Regions from separate parts of the Homo sapiens genome. Here regions 1, 2, 3, 4, 5 and 7 are each linked to region 6. The links are contacts of gene promoters, found by promoter capture Hi-C in blood cells and fetal thymus (Javierre and others, 2016). All regions are on one chromosome and are shown on one strand. Each heading gives the region's core, a stretch centred on a gene start or on the middle of the fragment in contact. The rest is flanking DNA. Distances are from core to core; before and after follow the strand shown.

Evidence for each region. The method cuts DNA at HindIII sites, captures the fragments that hold promoters and counts their contacts. A CHiCAGO score of 5 or more calls a contact.
Region 1: a fragment that was not itself captured here is called in contact with the fragment with the promoter of PRDX1 in region 6 in 1 of 17 cell types (naive CD4 T cells); the score reaches 5.8 in naive CD4 T cells.
Region 2: a contact is called between a fragment that was not itself captured here and the fragment with the promoter of PRDX1 in region 6, in 1 of 17 cell types (M0 macrophages). The highest score is 8.5, in M0 macrophages.
Region 3: a fragment that was not itself captured here is called in contact with the fragment with the promoter of PRDX1 in region 6 in 3 of 17 cell types (activated CD4 T cells, total CD4 T cells and total B cells); the score reaches 7.6 in activated CD4 T cells.
Region 4: a fragment that was not itself captured here is called in contact with the fragment with the promoter of PRDX1 in region 6 in 5 of 17 cell types (activated CD4 T cells, naive CD8 T cells, naive CD4 T cells and 2 more); the score reaches 8.2 in activated CD4 T cells.
Region 5: a contact is called between a fragment that was not itself captured here and the fragment with the promoter of PRDX1 in region 6, in 3 of 17 cell types (M0 macrophages, activated CD4 T cells and erythroblasts). The highest score is 8.1, in M0 macrophages.
Region 7: a contact is called between the fragment with the promoter of RPS8 here and the fragment with the promoter of PRDX1 in region 6, in 2 of 17 cell types (non-activated CD4 T cells and total CD4 T cells). The highest score is 7.2, in non-activated CD4 T cells.

The regions. Positions count from the first base shown.
Region 1 is chr1:44,865,025-44,867,724 of GRCh38, forward strand. The region is part of intron 10 of EIF2B3 (eukaryotic translation initiation factor 2B subunit gamma); the gene reads right to left. Among named protein-coding and RNA genes, the nearest start is that of PTCH2, 23 kb to the left of the region's middle. The HindIII fragment of the contact is 1,799 bases long and covers 461-2,259 here.
Region 2 is chr1:44,674,688-44,677,387 of GRCh38, forward strand. ARMH1 (armadillo like helical domain containing 1) reads left to right here and starts at 27. Exons shown (of 12, transcript NM_001145636.2): 1 at 27-186. The HindIII fragment of the contact is 1,619 bases long and covers 479-2,097 here.
Region 3 is chr1:44,696,472-44,699,171 of GRCh38, forward strand. ARMH1 (armadillo like helical domain containing 1) reads left to right here. Exons shown (of 12, transcript NM_001145636.2): 3 at 631-699; 4 at 1,592-1,758. The region is part of intron 4 of LOC105378690 (a long non-coding RNA gene); the gene reads right to left. Among named protein-coding and RNA genes, the nearest start is that of ARMH1, 23 kb to the left of the region's middle. The HindIII fragment of the contact is 1,210 bases long and covers 657-1,866 here.
Region 4 is chr1:44,744,625-44,747,324 of GRCh38, forward strand. The region is part of intron 2 of KIF2C (kinesin family member 2C); the gene reads left to right. Among named protein-coding and RNA genes, the nearest start is that of KIF2C, 6.1 kb to the left of the region's middle. The HindIII fragment of the contact is 4,417 bases long and covers 1-2,700 here.
Region 5 is chr1:44,722,860-44,725,559 of GRCh38, forward strand. ARMH1 (armadillo like helical domain containing 1) reads left to right here. Exons shown (of 12, transcript NM_001145636.2): 7 at 1,263-1,385; 8 at 1,461-1,533; 9 at 1,680-1,809; 10 at 1,903-1,980; 11 at 2,277-2,358; 12 at 2,432-2,700. The coding sequence ends at 2,544. It overlaps LOC105378690 (a long non-coding RNA gene), which reads right to left and starts at 1,260. Exons shown (of 5, transcript XR_007066059.1): 1 at 1,176-1,260. RefSeq lists a silencer at 578-872. The HindIII fragment of the contact is 4,387 bases long and covers 1-2,700 here.
Region 6 is chr1:45,520,544-45,523,243 of GRCh38, forward strand. It overlaps PRDX1 (peroxiredoxin 1), which reads right to left and starts at 1,341. Exons shown (of 6, transcript NM_181697.3): 1 at 1,286-1,341. RefSeq lists a silencer at 535-697 and an enhancer at 1,740-1,819. The HindIII fragment of the contact is 8,348 bases long and covers 942-2,700 here.
Region 7 is chr1:44,774,282-44,776,981 of GRCh38, forward strand. It overlaps RPS8 (ribosomal protein S8), which reads left to right and starts at 1,259. Exons shown (of 6, transcript NM_001012.2): 1 at 1,259-1,319; 2 at 1,753-1,859; 3 at 2,394-2,493. The coding sequence starts at 1,316. SNORD55 (small nucleolar RNA, C/D box 55) reads left to right here and starts at 1,584; the gene lies at 1,584-1,657. It overlaps SNORD46 (small nucleolar RNA, C/D box 46), which reads left to right and starts at 2,211; the gene lies at 2,211-2,308. RefSeq lists a silencer at 1,303-1,512 and an enhancer at 1,593-1,882. The HindIII fragment of the contact is 3,101 bases long and covers 1-1,725 here.

The sequences.
Region 1 (2,700 bases), core at 110-2,609, 660 kb before region 6:
CTGATCCAACATGGTGAAACCCTGTCTCTACTAAAAATACAAAAATTAGCTGGGTGTGGTGGCGCACGCCTATAATCCCAGCTACTTGGGAGGCTGAGGCAGGAGAATTGCTTGAACCTGGGAGGTGGAGGTTGCAGTGAGCTGAAATTGTCACTGCACTCCAGCCTGGGCAACAGAGCGAGACTCCATCTTAAAAAAAAAAAAAGAAATGTGTGAAGCCAGCCTGATTTTCTCCCTTCTATGTGGCCTGATGTTTTTCTTTCAGTTCTGCATGCCTTGGTATTTTGAAAAAAGGATGTTTGATGTCTTTTCTTTGGTTCACCCATGTTCCCATTCCTTCTTCTCTTTATGTTGAATCTTGGTGTTCTCTTTGGATTTAATCTAAATTTCACTGTATCTGGCAGATATTCTGTAGTCTGTGCATAGGTATGAGTAGGTTATTTCATTTTATTATAGATAAAGCTTCCTTCTGTGGTTTTGTTTTTTCAATTTGGTGAGCTTTAAGGAATGAAGCACTCATCCACAAATTTTCTTCTGTATTTGTAACATTGGTACCAACTTTTTTTTTTTTTCCAAGATGGAGTTTTGCTCTTGTTGCTCAGGCTGGAGTGCAATGGCGCGAACTGGGCTCACTGCAACCTCCACCTTCCGGGGTTCAAGTGATTCTCCTGCCTCAGCCAACCAAGTAGCTGGGATTACAGGCATGCGCCACCACGCCCGAGTAATTTTGTATGGGGTTTCTCCATGTTGGTCAGGCTGGTCTCGAACTCCTGACTCAGGTGATCTACCCGCCTCAGCTTCCCAAAATGCTGAGATTACAGGCATGAGCCACTGAGCCTGGCCATCATTGGTACCAACTTTTAAAATTTTTATTTATTTATTTTTTTCTCCCTCTCTATAATCATGTACAATATTTTTTTCTAGAAGCAGAGAGGGATCTCTTAACAGATATTTAGCCAGTTATAGTAGAGGGGTTAAATCAGAGATCTCCATTTTTCATTTAGTAAATGCTTATAAGATATCTACTACGTAAAAAGTGCAGTATTAAGAAGTTAGGGGATATAAAGACATATAAAAATATTTCTATATTTAGCCAGGCATGGTGGCTCACGCCTGTAATCTCAGCACTTTGGGAGGCTGGAGGTGGGCGGCTAATGAGGTCAGGAATTTGAGACCAGCCTGGCCAGCATGGAGAAACCCCATCTCTACTAAAAATACAAACAATTAGCTGGGCATGGTAGCACGTGCCCGTAGTCCCAGCTACTCGGGAGGCTGAGGCTGGAGAACTGCTTAAACCTGGCAGGTGGAGGTTGCAGTTAGCTGAGATTGTGCCATTGCACTCCAGCCGGGGTGACAGAATGAGATTCTGTCTCAAAAAAAAAAAAACAAACAAAACTATATTGAAGGCATTTATAGTCTAGTTGAAGAGGGAAGAAAGATGCAGTAAGTGCCACAGTACCATGTGAGCATGAATAAAGTGTTATGGGTGCATAGGGAGCACAGAGGTGGGGAAAATAGTTTATGGCTATGACAATTTTTTTTTTTTTTTAGATGGAGTCTCGCTCTGTCATCCAGTCCGGAGTCCAATAGTGCAACCTCGGCTCACTGCAACCTCTGCCTCCCCGGTTTAAGCGATTCTCCTGCCTCAGCCTCCTGAGTAGCTAGAATTACAGGCACACACCACCACGCCCAGCTAATTTTTGTATTTTTAGTAGAGACGGGGTTTCACCATGTTGGCCAGGATGGTCTCAAACTCCTGACCTCAGGTGATTGGCCCGCCTTGGCCTCCCAAAGTGTTGGGATTACAGGCGTAAGCCACCATGCCTGGCCGGCTATGACATCTTAAGAAAGCTGCATGGAAGAGTTGGAATATGCATTGGATCTTGCAAGATGGGTAGGATTTTTACAGGAAAGAGCTCCAAAGAGAGGCAATTCAGGCAGAGTGAATGTTAGAAATAAAGGGAAGTAGGAATGTAAGGAACCCAGTGGGCAGGGCAGTCAGTCAGTTGAGTGCAGGTGAAGGGTACACTCAGGGTAATGATGAGAAGTAGTAATTTCTTACCTGGCTCTGAGGTCTACACTTGCTAACTGCAAAAAGCATGGAAAACCTAGGTGAGAACCTGGCTTTCTAGCCTGTCAGCATGTGAAGATGCTACTCTAGACTGCTGCTTGGGTCATGTGCCTTGGATTAGGGGGAAATGCAGGAGAGGTTGCTTGGGACCAGGGGACCAAACATGCAGAATACAGGGCTGACACTCAAGCTTTGACAATGAAGTGTTTACTACATTGTGGATTCCTGAGCATCAGCTGTCATATAAAATGCCAGAACATGAGAAAGATGGGCAGGAGCTTTCTCTGAATAGTCTCGCCTACACCTTCTCCAAGGTGGTCCTATTAGCATCCCTCAAGCCCTGAAGACCTTGGGCAGGTGTCCAGAAAGCCTCAGCAAGCTTTCAAGCCTCAGCAGCCCACCACTGCTGGCAGAGACAAGCACATAACGAATATGAGAAACTCCCTTCTGAACAATTTTATGCTCCTACCCTGCCACTTAGCCAAGACATAATAGCAGCAGGGTAATCAAGTCTCACTTGACTGCAATTTAATTACCTTTCCCAGGTTTGCCGTAAGTAATTAAAATTAAGTGACCCCAAAATAATGGGAAAAAGTTCATATGGGATGTAGGATGTCTGATCTTATCAG
Region 2 (2,700 bases), core at 38-2,537, 850 kb before region 6:
GTCAGGAAGAGTCCCCACCCTCTCATGTAGGTGAGAGGCGGCTGAAGAGTTGCTGTATTCTGGGAATGGGCAGGGTCACTCGTCCGAACAGAGTCCTATCCTACGCGGCGGAAGAGTGTGCCCTTTGACTTGCATCGTCTACCTACCTCTGCCATCCTCTACCAGCCGCAACTGCGAGGGCTGGAGGTATAAAACCGTACAAAACGGCCTAGGGGGCGCGTGCCGACCCAACCTCCACCCAGTGGGGTTGAGGCATATTCTGGATGGATGGATGGATGGATGGATGGATGGGTGGATGGGAAGCAGTCTTCAGTTGATGACTTTAGAGAATGCCCTGTTGATAGGGCCCACCGAGGAGCTGGGAGTGCAACTTTCTTGCATTTATCTATATTTACATACTATGTGCCAGCATATTTACATACTATGTGCCAGAGACTGGGTGGGCTAAATAAGGTTCCTTAGGCCCTAGTGAGAATCAAGCTTTTGGCCCTCCCTCTCCCATGTCTTAACGGGAGAGGGAGAGAAACCATGCATGAAGCAACTCTGATTCTGCGTGTGAGATAAATACTACAGAAGAGTAAGGATTTGAGGAGCTCAGAATCAGAGAAGGGGCATTTATGGCAGTGGGGTTGGCTCTTGAGCTGGGCCTTGAAAGACTTTTAGAGATAGGGAGGGGGAAAGACTCTTTGCATGCCAGGCGCGGTGGCTCAAACTCGTAATCCCAGCACTTTGGAAGGCCAAGACGGGAGAATGGCTTGAAGGAGTTCAAGACCAGCCTGGGCAACATAGTGAGACCTTCATCTCTACAAAATTAAAATTTTAAAAATTAGCCAGGCATGGTAGCGCATGCCTGAAGTCCCAGCTACTTGGAAAGCTGAGGTGGGAGGATCACTTGAGTCAGGAGGTCAAAGCTGCAGTAAGCCATGATTGTGCCACTGCACTCCAGCCTGGGTGACAGAGTGAGACCCTGTCTCAAAAAACAAAACAAAGAGCCCAGTGTGGTGTCTCACCCCTGTAATCCCAGCACTTTGGGAGGCTGAGGCGGGCGTATCACTTCAGGTCAGGAGTTCGAGACCAGCCTGGCCAACATGGCGAAACCCCATCTCTACTAAAAATACAAAAATTAGCCGGGCATGGTGGTGCACACCTGTAATCCCAGCTACTTGGGAGGCTGAGGCAGGAGAATGGCTTGAACCTGGGAGGTAGAGGTGGCAGTGAGCCGAGATTGCTCCACTGCACTCCAGCCTGGGTGACAGAGCGCGACTCTGTCTCAAAAAAAAAGAAACATTAGTGCAGGAACTGGATTGAGGATTGGGAGAAGGAGGGAGACCAGTTAGGAGGTTGTTTCAGTAGTGGGGAAGGATTATGGTGGCACAAAGCATGGAGTGGCAGCTGAAATGGAAAGGGCAGGATGAATTCCTTAGACACTTATAGCTAGAAAAAAATGGACTTGGTTACTAATTGGGTGTGGGGGAAGTAAGGGAAATGAAGGATGACTTCTAGATTCCTGGTTTGGGCAAACAGGAAGGAGAGGAAGCAGGGGTTTTTAGGAGAGGGTCAGTTCTGGGCACGGTGAGCTTGGGGTGCCAATGGAACATCCAAGTGGAGGTATCCAGAAGGCCATTGGATATGCCTAACTGGAGTTCGCCAGATAAGTCTAACTGGAAGTTGCAGTGTGGGAGTCTATGGGGCCTTATAGATGCCAGCCACACCAATAGATTTGTTGAGCTTGCCCAGGGAGTAAGTGTAGAGTCAGAAGAGACCTAGGACAGAGCCCTGAGAAACACCCAAGTTTGAGGGTCTGGCAAAGGAGGACGAACCTGCAAAGGTAATCAAGATGAAGTGTCCAAAATGGTAAGAAGATCAGTAGTAGTATGTGGTGTTTCAGAAGCCAAGGAAGGAAAGTGTTGAAGGCTTATGACTAATCAAGTAAAATAAGGCCTGAAAGAATCCACTGGATTTAGAAACAAGGAAGTTGTTGGTGACCTTTACAAGTGCAGTTTCAGTGGAGTGATGGGAGCAGAGGTCAAATTACAGTGGTTTGAGAAGCAGATGGGATTGAGGAAGTGAAGATTCATGTAAGATACATTTTCAGAAAGCTTGGCTATTTAGGAGAAGAAAAAAGAAGGCAATATCCAGCAGGAAACACAGGTTTTTATTCGGATGGAAGAAATGTTGATGTGGATCCAGCAAAGGGGAAAAAGATAAAACTATAAGGGAAAGAAGATAACTGAGAATGGTGCCCTTGAAAAAAAGACTTCACCAAAGTGTTGGTGAAGAAATTCACTTAGAAGGGTGGAGGAACATTTGTTTTGTGGCAGAAGGGAAGCATTACGTTGAGGTTAATTGGTGGGTTTGGTGACAGGAAGCTGAGGGAATTCTTCGATGGTTTCCATTTTCTCTGTCAAATAAGAACATTATATCAGCCAGTGAGAGTGGGATTGGAGATGGTGTGCGAGATTGAAAAGAGCAGAGAAAGATTAAAATAGCAGCACTGGAGAGTGGCAGTGAGATGACTAAGGTAGCAAACAGATTTCTGGGCAGTTATCATGGCCCTGTCGAGGTTAGTGACCATTAATTTTCGGAAGCAGCAGTCTGCAAGGTTGTGTAATATGCATTTTTCCCTCAACAACATTCAGCCACCTAGTGGTGGGTACACAGAGGTTAGTTTAATTGATCTAGGTTTGGGTTTTACCAGGC
Region 3 (2,700 bases), core at 12-2,511, 820 kb before region 6:
TTGTATCTGAGCTGATGCGTGCTTTGGGTACTTTATTATAATGAGGCTTTTTGCAAAGACTCACATTAAAAAATAACATTAAATACTGAGGTTGTTTTAAATCAGAGTTTAATTTTTCCACCATCTCCTATTATTCTTATTAGGAAGCCAATTCTTCATAAGGATAGTGACCTCCAGTGTAAAACTTTGAACAAGTACAAAAATTGAGAATTAATGATGAAGCTGGTTCTTTTTAGGGAAATCTAAGAATGAGGCACAAAGTCATGAACTATGCTGACACCAAGGATGCAATGGGCATGGCTTAGAGAGCTTTGGGATATTGACCCCCAGCCTTCTCCAGGGACCCTTAATTCATCAGAGCCTCCTTGTTCCCTAGAAAGCCTGTAAGAGCCAAGGTGGCTGAACTGCCACAGAGGAGCTTCCTGGAGAACAGTGAACAGCCAGCACCCTCTTCCCCCAACCCTGTGTGTACTGCCACTTCCCCTTCCGCTGGTAGCTCCTCTCAGGGTAAAGAGGCACAGTTCAGCTACTTGGCCACCCTGGGCCCGGGGTGGTACCAGAGATCAGGCACGGGCTCTGGCTTCTGTGTGAAAAACCACCCTGAAACTCACTCTTTAACGTGTCATACAGCTATATGACTGACTCATGTTTAGAAAAGCTTCTCAGGTCCATTGGCATCTTCTTATCAGCTGTAAGCAGGTGAGTTCTGTTCTAGCGTGATTCTGGGGGTCTCAGTGGCATCTCAGGCTCATGATGTCTTTGGCATTCACACCACCCAGGGCCACGGATTCCTGTTAGCAGTGGGTTCCTTGTAGCTCTTGGGATGGGCCCAGAGGTAATGTCCACCGGGCTCCTGCTCTAGTTGCTCCCCCATCCCTTTCTCTCCAGTGGCGCTTCACTAGTCAGCACCCTCTCGGTTGTGAATTACAGAAAACCAACTCATATTGGACTCAGAAAAAGGAAAATTAGTGGCTCACTTAACTGGAAAAACCCAGAGGGTAGAAATACATATTTCAGCCCTAACTAGATCCAGGGCTCAAACAATGTCATCAGTACTTGGCCTCCTTCTCTGTCTTTTCCCCCATTTCTGTCTCTTCTCCTCTGTGTTCATAGACCTCTGTATGCCATGGTCCTCAGGAGCTCTAGACATACCAAAAACAGAGCAGATCCTTTCCACAGCTTCCCAAGAAAGTCCCAGGCTTTGAGCCTCATTGGACCAATTTAGGTCCCATGCCCAGCCCCAAACGAACTTCTGCAGTCAGAAGGGTGACATACCCTGTCACCTCCTCACCCCACCAAAACTACATGGCCCATGAGTGGCAGAGGGGTGATTCCCCAAGTGACAGTTGAGGTGGTATTACAAGAAGAAGAAGAGATGCTGGAATGGCAAAACCAAGAACTGTCCCTAGTATGTAATTCCAGTCTTTCCTGCTGGAAGGAAGAATTTCCACACTCGTATCACTTTACCTATGGACATTTCCTGGATAGGAGGGCAAAGTATGTAAAGAGGGGACCTTGGGATCTCTTTGAAAGCTCAGTGCAAAGGAACTTGACAAGAGTTTTATTTCTACTTTTCTATCCCTCTGGACAGTAATCGGTACCTTATAGAATTTCTTGAGGTTGGAGGTGTCCTAACCCTCTTGGAAATACTTGGGCTAGAGAAGATCAAGGAGGAGGCCAAGAAGGAATCTGTCAAACTACTTCAGGTTATTGCGAACTCTGGCAGGACATACAAGGAACTCATTTGTGAAAGCTATGGTGGGTACTGTGTGTGACAAGATGTGTCTCCCTAGGGGCCTGAATGACATGGTGGCAGAACCCACCACTGCTATAGGAAAAACACATCATGAAACTGGTTGAACAGGAAGCTTTTTGTGCTCCTGTCCATGTCACCACTGGAAGACCCAGATTTATGATTCTCCTGATTCATCATTTGCTCACATTTTTCAGTAGTGGTTTTAGAAATACTTCTCCTTTTTAAATATATCCTCTTTCAGGCATCCATTCAAAGATTTGTTGAGCTGTGGCCCAATATCTTTTGTGAAATTGAGTTATGAGGCCGGGCGCGGTGGCTCACACCTGTAATCCCAGCATTTTGGGAGGCCAAGGCAGGAAGATCACCTGAGGTCAGGAGTTTGAGACCAGCCTGACCAACATGGAGAAACCCCGTCTCTACTAAAAATACAAAAAAATTAGCCTGGTGCAGTGGTCGGGGCCTGTAATCCCAGCTACTTGGGATGCTAAGGCAGGAGAATCGCTTGAACACAGGAGGCAGAGGTTGTGGTGAGTTGAGATCACACCATTGCACTCCAGCCTGGGCAACAAAAGTGAAACTCCATCTCAAAAAAAAAAAAAAGAAATTGAATTATGAATAACTCAAGAAATAAAATTGAAGGCCAGACGCAGTGGTTCACACCTGTAATCCCAGCACTTTGGGAGGCCAAGGCGAGTGGATCACCTGAGGTCAGAATTTGAGACCAGCCTGGCCAACATGGCAAAACCCCCTCTCTACTAAAAATACAAAAATTAGGCCAGGCGCGGTGGCTCACGCCTGTAATCCCAGCACTTTGGGAGGCAGAGGCAGTCGGATCACGAGGTCAGGAGATCAAGACCATCCTGGCTAACACGGTGAAACCCCGTCTCTACTGAAAATACAAAAAAAAATTCAAACGCATGGTGGCACGCACCTGTAATGGCAGC
Region 4 (2,700 bases), core at 151-2,650, 780 kb before region 6:
TCGTGGTGGCTCACACTTGTAATCCCAGCACTCTGGGAAGCTGAAGCGGGCGGATCATGAGGTCAGGAGTTCAAGACCAGCCTGGCCAATATAGTGAACCTGCATCTCTACTAAAAATCCAAAAACTTAGCCGGATGTGGTGGTGCGCACCTGTAGTCCCAGCTACTCAGGAGGCTGAGGCGGAAGAATCGCTTGAACCCGGGAGGTGGAGGTTGCAGCGAGCTGAGATCGCGCCATTGCACTCCAGCAGCCTGGGCGACAGAGTGAGATTCCGTCTAAAAAAGGCCGGGCGTGGTGGCTCATGCCTGTAATCCCAGCACTTTGGGAGGCTGAGGTGGACGGATCACCTGAGGTCAGGAGCTCAAGACCAGCCTGGCCAACGTGGTAAAACCCTGTCTCTACTAAAAATACAAAATTAGCTGGACATGGTGGCGCATGCCTGTAATCTCAGCTACTCAGGAGGCTGAGGCAGGAGAATCACTTGAACCTGGGAGGCGGAGGTTCCAGTGAGCCGAGATCATGCCACTGCACTCCAGCCTGGGCACCAAGAGTGAAACTCCATCTCAAAAAAAAAAAAAAACCTCTGGTTTTCTTTGTTGTTTATGCTCTCTGTAGTTTAGGGGTTAGAAATGGGGGAGGTATGTACCAAGAGTCTGTGGCTGTCCCAGAAGTGTGGATAGAAGTGTGATTACTGAAGTGCTTGCCAGCTTTTGCATTTAGTGATTCTATCCTCCTTTTTTTTTTTTTATTTAAATCTCATTCTGCTTTGATTTCCTTTGTACATATGACTTATAATCCCCATTAGAAATTGAGCTCATGGTGGCAGGGGTTGTATATGTCTTTTTTTTTTTTTTTTTTTTTTTTTTGAGACAGTGTTTCGCTCTTGTTGCCCAGGCTGGAGTGTGATGGCGCTATCTTGGCTTACTGCAACCTCCGCCTCCCGGGTTCAAGCGATTCTTCTGCCTCAGCCTCCCGAGTAGCTGAGATTACAGGCATGCATCACACCTGGCTAATTTTTTATTTTTAGTAGAGACGGGGTTTTTCCATGTTGGTCAGGCTGGTCTTGAACTCCCGACCTCAGGTGATCTGCCTGTCTCAGCCTCCCAAAGTGCTGGGATTACAGACGTGAGCCACCACGCCCGGCCTATATATGTCTTAATTCATCTTTGACTACCTTCCCCCTGTAGGCTGCTGTCTTCGTGGTGCCTAACAAATGTTTGAATAGGCAGCAAATAACTGCAGATTTCTTTTTTCTTTTTCTTTTTTTTTTGAGACGGAGTCTCGCTGTGTCGCCCAGGCTGGAGTGCAGTGGCGGGATCTCGGCTCACTGCAAGCTCCGCCTCCTGGGTTCACGCCATTCTCCTGCCTCAGGCTCCTGAGTAGCTGGGATTACAGGTGCACGCTGCCACACCCAGCCAACTTTTTGTATTTTAGTAGAGACAGGGGTTTCACCGTGTTGCCCAGGCTGGCCTTGAACTCCTGAGGTCAGGTAATCCGCCCACCTCGGCCTCCCAAAGTGCTGGGGTTACAGGCGTGAGCCACCGCACCCAGTCCTGCAGGTTTCATCTCTAGGCAGTAAAGCCCTCACCCTAGAGTACATGCTTCAGCTCTGTCACATTTTGAAATACAAAGTTGGGACAAATTTAATATGTCTGAACCTGTTGTAAAGCTATCCTGGTGAAGTTTGAGTTGTTCCTGGAGAATTGCAGGACTCTGATGATGTAAACTTAGAATTGTGACCTCATTGCAGGCATCAACAGGAAATAGGTAAGGCATGGGCAGGAAGCCGTAACTGGGGAAGTTTCTGGGCCCAGAAGAAAATGTAGGTAGTCTTAGGGTTAGGTAGCAGCTGTCAGGAACTTGCCCCTGCCCATAAGATCCTAAAGGGCCCCCATTTGACTCTCACCAGACAGTTAGAACTTGTTTCCTCCTCCGTGTCAGCCATCAAGAGGTGCTTGGGGGGCTGTGCCCAGCAGGACCTCACTGCCCAGCAGATCAGCAGGGGAGCCAAGTGGCCTAGATCTGCTGTGGAGTACCCGACTGTTTGCCTGCCTGTCTGCCCTCCTCTTCACCTCATTCTCATCACTGACGTCTACCATTGGCTTGGAAATCAGAAACCCATATCCATCTAGATGGTAAACCATTATTAAGGAGTAACTATTTGTTTTATAGCTATTCATACTTAGTGGAACTTAAAGTTGGTAAAGTTTGAATTTAGGGGTACCCCTGTCTATAGAAATTTAATTTTTTCTATGTTGTTTTTTTGTTTGTTTGTTTGTTTTTTGTTTTTTGAGACAGAGTCTTGCTCTGTTGCCCAGGCTGGAGGGCAGTGGCTCAATCTCAGCTCAATGCAACCTCCGCCTCCTGGATTCCAGCAATTCTCCCGCCTCAGCCTCGGGGGGGCCAGGCACAGTGGCTCACACCTGTAATCCCAGCACTTTAGGAGGCCGAGGTGGGGAGATCACCTGAGGCCAGGAGTTTGAGACCATCCTGGCCAACATGGTGAAACCCTGTCTCTACTGGAAATACAAAAATTAGCTGGGCGTGGTGGCGCATGCCTGTAGTCCCAGCTACTCAGGAGGCTGAGGCAGGAGAATTGCTTGGACCCAGGAGGCAGAGGTTGCATTGAACCAAGATCGCACCACTGCCCTCCAGCCTGGGCGACAGAGCGATACTCTGTCTCAAAAAAAAAAAAAAAGA
Region 5 (2,700 bases), core at 67-2,566, 800 kb before region 6:
CCAGCCTGGCCAAGATGGTGAAACCCCATCTCTACTAAAAATACAAAAAAAAAAAAAAAAAAAAATTAGCCGGGTGTGGTGGCGGGCGCCTGTAATCCCAGCCTACTCGGGAGGCTGAGGCAGGAGAATTGCTTGAACCCAGGAGGCGGAGGTTGCAGTGAGCCGAGATCGCGCCACTGCACTCCAGCCTGGGCGACAGAGTGAGGCTCTGTCTCAAAAAAAAAAAAAAGGTAGCATTTATGCTGGTGTGCCATCATCTTAGCATCTCCTTCTCCTCCTGCCCCCTCTAGCTCTGTGGTTCCTTTCTCTTCTTTACAAAAACATTCAATCCTTGCCGATTTTCTCTTGTGCTCCCACAGCCCAATCACTGACTCCTTCCACAGCACCTGTCACCATATCATCGCTGCCTGTTTGTGCACGCTTAAGGAGGGTTGGTCGAATGAATGAATTCAGTCTGTATCCTCAACACCCAATGCCGCGCCTGGCACCATAGGCGTTCACATGCAGCCGTGCCGAAAGACTGAGTGAATGCTGGACTGAATGAATGACTGCCTGTAAAATATCTACAGGAAAGCCCTGCAGGAAATGCCCTCCATAAATTCTAGTCCCCTTCTCCTTCCTAACCAAATCCTCCCCTCCTTCTGCTTCCATCACTTCCTAGCTGTGTAACTTAGGCAAAGTGGTTTACCTCTCTGTGTCTAATTTCGGCAAAGGTAAAATGGGGAAGTGAACCTCATCTGGTTCTGGTGAGCTTCCACGGGTGCTGTATGGAAAGCCTGGCACCCTGCCTGGTGGAGAGGGCTCGATGATGGTTAGAAGGAGAGTTTCTCTAAACTGCCGCCTACCTTCCTTCCCCTTTCTCATTTCCTGCCACAAGTCTCCCACCCACTTTCTCTGTCTCCCTCTCACCCCTTGTCTTTCTCCATCTTGTCTTCCCGTAAAGACCCAGCCCTTCCCTCCTCCATGAAACCTGGATTCCTCCAAGGCGAAGGCCCCCCTCTCTGGGGTCTCAGCCTCCAGCGCTGACATCCTAGGCCGCCTCGACAGGTGGGCTCACCATCCAACCCTTCCTCCTCCCCCTTCAGCCCCCTCCTCCTGCTCTTCAACTGAGGTTCGCCTTCCCAGCTCCCCCACGCCCTGCACAGTGCTGATCAGTAAAAGAGGAGGACACTGACGAGTGGCGACTTGGTTCACGGGGTTCTTTGCTTCCTCGGTGGCGGAGGGGCCTGGGGCCTCTCTCCAGCACCTCTGCCCTTCCGCAGCCATCGAGTTGATCAAAGACCTGGTCGGTTACGATGTGCGCCAGGCGCTGCTCAAGGGCCTCGTGGCGCTGCTGATACCGTCGGTCAAGGAGATCTCCAAACTGCAGGCCAAGATCCTCAGTGGTAAGGACCTGCTCAAATGGGGCTGCCTGGGCCACGGGAGGGCGGTCTCTTGCCTCACGGCTGCCCCCTCCTCAGACCCCTCGGTTCTCCAGCTCACCCCCAGCCTGCCGATGTTTTTGCAGCAGGCCGCGGCCGCCAAGGCCATCGGGTAAGCGGGCAGGGGTTAGTGGGTAGCTGCAGCAAGCCTGGCTTGGCGCTGCCGGCGGGCCCCGGGAGCGCTCCGTGCGCCGGGTGGGCGGGGGTGTGCGCCGGGTGAGCCCCAGGGCGTCGCCCCAGCCCGAACCCCCGGCCCAGGGTCCTGGCGCGCAACGACATGAGCATCGCCGAGGAGCTGCTGTACCTGCGCGTGGTGCGTGGCCTAATGGCCGCCATGGGCAACACGGACCACAGCAACAGCCAGCGGCTGGCCAGCCTCACGCTGGAGGTGCGCGCGGCGGCTGGTTAGGGGGCGGGAAGGGCGGCGGCACCCGCAGCCCCGTCGCCCCCGCAGTCACGCCGCCTCGCCCGCGCGGCGCAGTGCTTCGTGCAGATGTTCCCCTTGGTGGCGGAGCACGTGCGCAAGTGCATGGGGGAGGAACTCTACCAGCTCTTCCTGGTAAGTGCGCCCTTCCTGCCCCGCCGCAATGAGCAGATGGCGGCTCGGACAGTGTGATGCCCCTTCAGACAGTCCCCATCCTGGAGCGCGCCACATGCAGAGTGGACCTGGCCACCAGCTGCAGGAGGGACTGCTCTGGCGTAGGCTCCTCCACCCGCCACCTTCCTGTTCCCTTTCCTGCCCTTTCGGTCAGGCTGCCGACCCGCCCCCCACCTGCAACATCCCTCTGCCAAGCCCAACTCCAAGTCCAGACTGCCCTGGCACCCCAGCCGGGTCCCCCTTGCTCCTGTCCTCAGAGCAACGCTGAGGACTTGTACATGAAAATAGACAGCATTCAGGCGGACATCTTGGCGGCCAACACAGTCAATGTTACCAAAGGTGAGTGTGGGACGAGGGAAGCCGGGCGCAGGCGCCGCCAGCACAGCCTCACGCCCGCCTTTCCTGCCTGCAGCCCTGTGCCTCCATGGCAGCTCCTACAGCATGAACACTCTCTATGGCTCGCGCGATTCGGCTCAGATGGCCTACCTCACACACTTCGAGGAGGATGTAGAATCAAAGGAGTAACAGCCCCTGTGGCAAACCAGGAAGGCCAAGGCTGCGGGGCAGGGAAGCCTGGCAAGAGGAAGGCGCCTGGGGTCAAGCTCAGAGCCACTCCACTTGGCTCCAGGGGGGAGACGGGGATTAGGCATCCCAGAGGGGCAGAGGAAGAGCCGCTGGCTG
Region 6 (2,700 bases), core at 91-2,590:
GAAACCCCGTCTCTAACAAAAATACAAAAAATTAGCCGGGGGTGGTGGCACGCGCCTGCAGTCCCAGCTACTCGGGAGGCTGAGGCAGGAGAATGGCGTGAACCCGGGAGGCGGAGGCTGCAGTGAGCCGAGATCCAGCCACTGCACTCCAGCCTGGGCGACAGAGCGAGACTCCGTCTCAAAAAAAAAAAAAAAAAAAAAATACAAAAATTAGCCGGGGCTTGGTGGCACAAGCCTGTAATCCCAGCTACTCCTAAGGCTGAGGCAGAAGAATTGCTTGAATTCGGGAGACAGGGGTTGCAGTAAGCCGAGACCGCGCCACTGCACTCCAGCCTGGCCGACAGAGCGAGACTCTAGCTCAAAAAACAGAGATTTAACCCACTAAGCCGCGGTCTGAAAGCTTTTCCAAGTCCCAAAGTTCTTAGTTCACAATACCACAAGCAAAAGAAATTTTGTAAGCATGGATCTTAGCAAACTTTTAACTGTTTTTTAAAAAGTCCTTAACACCTTTAACGACAAAAAACAAAAACCAAAAACTAAGGCATGCTGCAACTTGGTGCCCCCAAATGGCCTTCTCGTCCAATCCTTCTTTCCCAAGTGGCCCCCAAGTACAAAACCCAACCAATTCGGGGTAAAGGCTGCTGGGATTCAGGCCGCCACCGGGCCCCTTCAGGGGATCTGCCCAGCGTAGAGGGCCACATCCCTAAACCCCACTTCAGGTGCCCCCTGTCCCTCCCCAGCACTGGAGAAAGCACCAGCAGAGAGAGTGCTTCAGCGGGGACATTTGGGCTCATCGCTAACTCCATTCCACGTACAGGAAAATAAAGACGGGGAAAGGGTACCCGAAGCTCCGCAGCTAGTCAAGGCTCAGGACCCGGAACAGCCAAATACATAGAGGCTGTCTTCTACAGCCACGAGTCTGGATACAGGTCCATTCCAGAAGCTTCCCGAACCCACCCCGTCCGGCAGGAGGCTAGTCTCGGAGACCCCCACCACCAGCCCGCCCAGACGCCGCGCCACGTGCTCGAGTTGCCGGGGGAAGACTCGACTCGAGTCCACGCTTGCCTTGGGGTTCAACCAGGTTCCCGCACCTACGTGGGGGGCCCACGAGAGGGGTGTGCGCAGCGCTCAAGCAGTCTCGGACTCCGGGCCTCCCCCGGCTGCCTCACGCATCACAGCACCCCCACCCGAGCGCGGGCGGGCCCCGGACAGGAGGAGGAAGAGGCAACAGGCAAGAAGGGCGCGCCGCGCCTCACTCCGCAGGGGCCGCACTGCCCACACTCACCAGTCCCAACACAAGTCGCAGAAACTAACCACCGACACCAGGCAAGAACAAGACGCGCAAGAGCTCTCCGGGGCGCTGCCTTTATAGCCAGTAGGGATCTCGCGAGAGTCGGAACGGACGGGGGTGCCGGAGGAGGAGAGAGAGGAGGGGGATGTGGCCCGAGCCCCGCCCGGCGCGCCCCGCCGGAATGACTCGGCGCTTTCCCTCGTTGGGGCGGGTGCGGAAAAATACTAATACCCCACCCTGTTGCGGATGGCTGAGGTTGGAGTGAGGCGCCCTTGTGGCCGCTCCCGAACCCGAACGCTTAGGTTAATCCTAGATCTCTGCGGAAAACCAGGATTCTCTTTACTTCCAGGACCACTACGCACTGTGCCCTCAATGCCCAAACTGGAGTAAGCGTCTTAGCTGCTGCCCACGGAGGACCACGTCTAACCACACCAAGCCATGAGAACTGTCTATCCAAATATTTCTTAAGTTCGCAGCCTTAACCCCAGCGCAGATCCTCAGTAACCCTCATGGCTTAGATAGCTTCCTTCATTGTTCTCTTTAATTACAGGGTTGCTGCTTTCTGTTGTAAAGGAAAATAAAATATCAGGACTCCTAAACTTACGCCAGAGGGAAAGTTCATCTTGGGAGGCTGATTCAGTTACACGACCATCCTCTCCCCGGATGAATAATTTGACTTTACAATCTTGAGTCAAAACATTACACATTAGCCAGACCCACACGGTAAGGCAAAAGGCCTCAGACATTTCCTGATGACTACCCCCCACAAACACACATACACAAAATCATAATTAATTATTTGCTCCCCTGGAAACCTTTAAAGTATGTAGCCTCCCATAAAACAAGGACGTGTCAATTGCAACTAGATCTACAATATAAAGTCTAGTTCCTAAAACTAAAGTTTGTTCTATTCCACATTTTTTTGAGACGGAGTCTCACTCACCCTGTCGCCCAGGCTGTAGTGCAGTGGCACGGTGTTGGCTTACTGCAACCTCCACCTCCCGGGCTCAAGCGATTCTCCCGCCTCACCTCCGGAGTGTCTGGGACTACAAGCACGCACCACCACGCCCAGCTAATTTTTTGTATTTTTAGTAGAGACGAGGTTTCATCATGTTGGCTAGGCTGGTCTCCAACGCCTGACCTCAGGTGATCCGCCCGCCTTGGCCTCCCAAAGTGCTAGGAATGTAAGCGCGAGCCACCGCACCTGGCCTCTATTCCACAAATTCCATAAATGTTCACTACTAGATTACCTTTCTACTAGACTACTTTCTACCTTTCTAGTAGTACCTTACTACTAGATTACCCTGAGTCCACCACATAATTGTTTTCTTCCTCCATTCCCTTTTTCTTCAAACATTCACCTTATCTTATGTAAAAATGTAGATTTAGGCCACCTAGGAGGGCGGATC
Region 7 (2,700 bases), core at 9-2,508, 750 kb before region 6:
AAATAAAATATCATCATAAATAAGACCTACTATTTGATAGCAAAACAGGGTGACTATAATCAATAATAACTTGTGTATTTTATTTTTTTGAGACAGAGTTTTACTCCATCACCCAGGCTGGAGTGAGTGCATTGGTGCCATCTCGGCTCACTGGAACCTCCACCTCCCGGTTCAAGTGATTCTCCTTCTTCAGCCTCCAGACGGAGTTGCTGGAATTACAGGCGCCCGCCACCACGCCCGGCTAATTTTGTTTTGTTTGTTTGTTTTGTTTTGAGACGGAGTTTCGCTCTGTCGCCAGACTGGAGTGCAGTGGTGCGATCTCGGCTCACTGCAACCTCCAGCTCCCTGGTTCAAGCGATTCTCCTGCCTCAGCCTCCCTGAGTAGCTGGGATTACAGGTGTGCGTCACCATGCTCAACTAAATTTTGTATTTTTTTAGTAGACACGCGGTTTCACCATGTTGGCCAGGCTGGTCTCGAACTCCTGACCTCGTGATCCGCCCGCCTCCGCCTCCCAAAAGTGCTGAGATTACAGGCGTGAGCCACCGCGCCAGGCCTAAAAATTTTTTTTAATTAAAAAATAGATATCCTTCTAGCTCAGAAAAGTTAGCTGATCCCTCCTTTATACTCTCTTCCTAAGTTCCGTTCATTCTGGTGGCTTTAATTACCATTTATAAGCCAACGATTCCCAAAATAACATCTTCGGTGCAGATCCCTTATAAGGATGACCAGTCATTAATATTCAGCTTCCTATCTGTTAGTCCCACTCAACATGACTTAGCAAGATCTCAAAATGAACGTGTCCAGAACAGCTCCTACCTTAGCCTACCCCATCTCAGTAAATGGCCCCAATATTTATCCGATTGATCAAGTGACAATCTTAGGAATCCTTGACACCGCCCTCTCCCTCAATCCCCATGTCCAATCTACCACCAAACCCTTCAAAACAAAACCCAAGTCCACACTCGTTTCCAATTCCATTGCCTTCCACTCTTTTTCAACGCAGCCGCACCCACATCTCATCCTAAACGACCGCAGCAGCCTCTGAAACTAGTCTAAACACGCCCAGATCTGCCGACGCCGCAGACCCCCTTCCCCCAGCCCAGGGTCGGAGGCGAGTCGCCGGGGGTCGGCAGAGGTCAGCAGCCTGCGAGACCCTCCTAGGCTCGTGGCCCTAGGCGCGGCAGCTGACACGTAAGTCTCGTCGCCCGACGTTGTTTCGGCGCTCAGAAACAACGTAAAGTAAAGGGGCGGGGCAGCGTTTTACAAACCGAACCGTGAATCTTTGCGGTTTCTCTTTCCAGCCAGCGCCGAGCGATGGGTGAGTGTCGCTCTGCATTGAGGCGGGTGAAGGGAGGTTGAGCTCAATCAGGCCCCATCCTGCTTCACAGCCTACTGAGGAGTCCAGACGCCCCGACCCCCGGCCAGGGACAGCCACGAGGAGTGGTGGCCCTCGGGTTTCGGCCGCCCAGCCCGTCTCTGGGGGCTGCGAAGGCTCTGGGCTCCGGGTTCCGGGCCGCGGGCTGCGGGCTCCGAGCGGCGCCAACATGGCTGCCGCGAGGAGGAGGCCCCGGCCTGGCCGCACGTGTATGATGACAACTCGGTAATGCTGCATACTCCCGAGTGCGCGGTGGGGAAGCCAACCTTGGAGAGCTGAGCGTGCGACCGGCCCGGCGCGGGGGTCTCCGGGAGCTGGCGAGTCGCTAGCACCGAGTCACAGTGGCTCAAGCTTCCTTCCCCGCTTCCACATGCAGGCATCTCTCGGGACAACTGGCACAAGCGCCGCAAAACCGGGGGCAAGAGAAAGCCCTACCACAAGAAGCGGAAGTATGAGTTGGGGCGCCCAGCTGCCAACACCAAGGTGGGTGCGAGCGTGGGCCTGTCCGCCTGGGAGGTCGCCTTCCCCCGCTCTCCAGCGTGCTCGGGTCTTTCCGTGTGACAGTTGTGCGTTCTTTCTTGGGCTCTGATTTCTCTGTAGTAGGGCCTGGGTGTCCTGTCCCCCTTTAGCTGTTGGATAAGTAAGTACCAAAGAGGGAATGCTCCCTCAGGCCCCCAAACCTGGAGCTTAGGATTTCAGAGAGAAGGATACTGTGTGGGGACTTGAGCTTCTGGAGAGGGTGGCGCCTCGCGTCATAGTCAGAAGCCTAGTCTTGTTTTTTTTACAGAGGCTTAATTTTCAGCATTTGGGGTCAGGCTTTCCTCTTGGAGGCAAGTAGGGTGATGAAAAAGAATCCTTAGGCGTGGTTGTGGCCGTCTTGGTCACCTGTGTGCCACTTGCCAATGCAAGGACTTGTCATAGTTACACTGACTGTTGCCTCCTCCCGGCCCAGGTTCCTCTCCCTCACTTGCCTTGCTCTCCTTGGTAACCTAGTTCCTGTAACCTTGTGTTTTCCAGATTGGCCCCCGCCGCATCCACACAGTCCGTGTGCGGGGAGGTAACAAGAAATACCGTGCCCTGAGGTTGGACGTGGGGAATTTCTCCTGGGGCTCAGAGTGTGAGTGAGGCCCTTTGGGAGTGGGTGGGAAAACGCACCTAAACGGTCTTAAGATTCACCAAGTGGGCCTGGCGCGGTGGCTCACGCCTATAAGCCCAGCACGTTGGGAGGCCGAGGCGGGCGGATCACCTGAGGTCAGGAGTTCGAGTCCAGCCTGGGCAACAGAGCGAGACTCTCAGTAAAAAAAAAGATTCAAGTGCTTTTAGC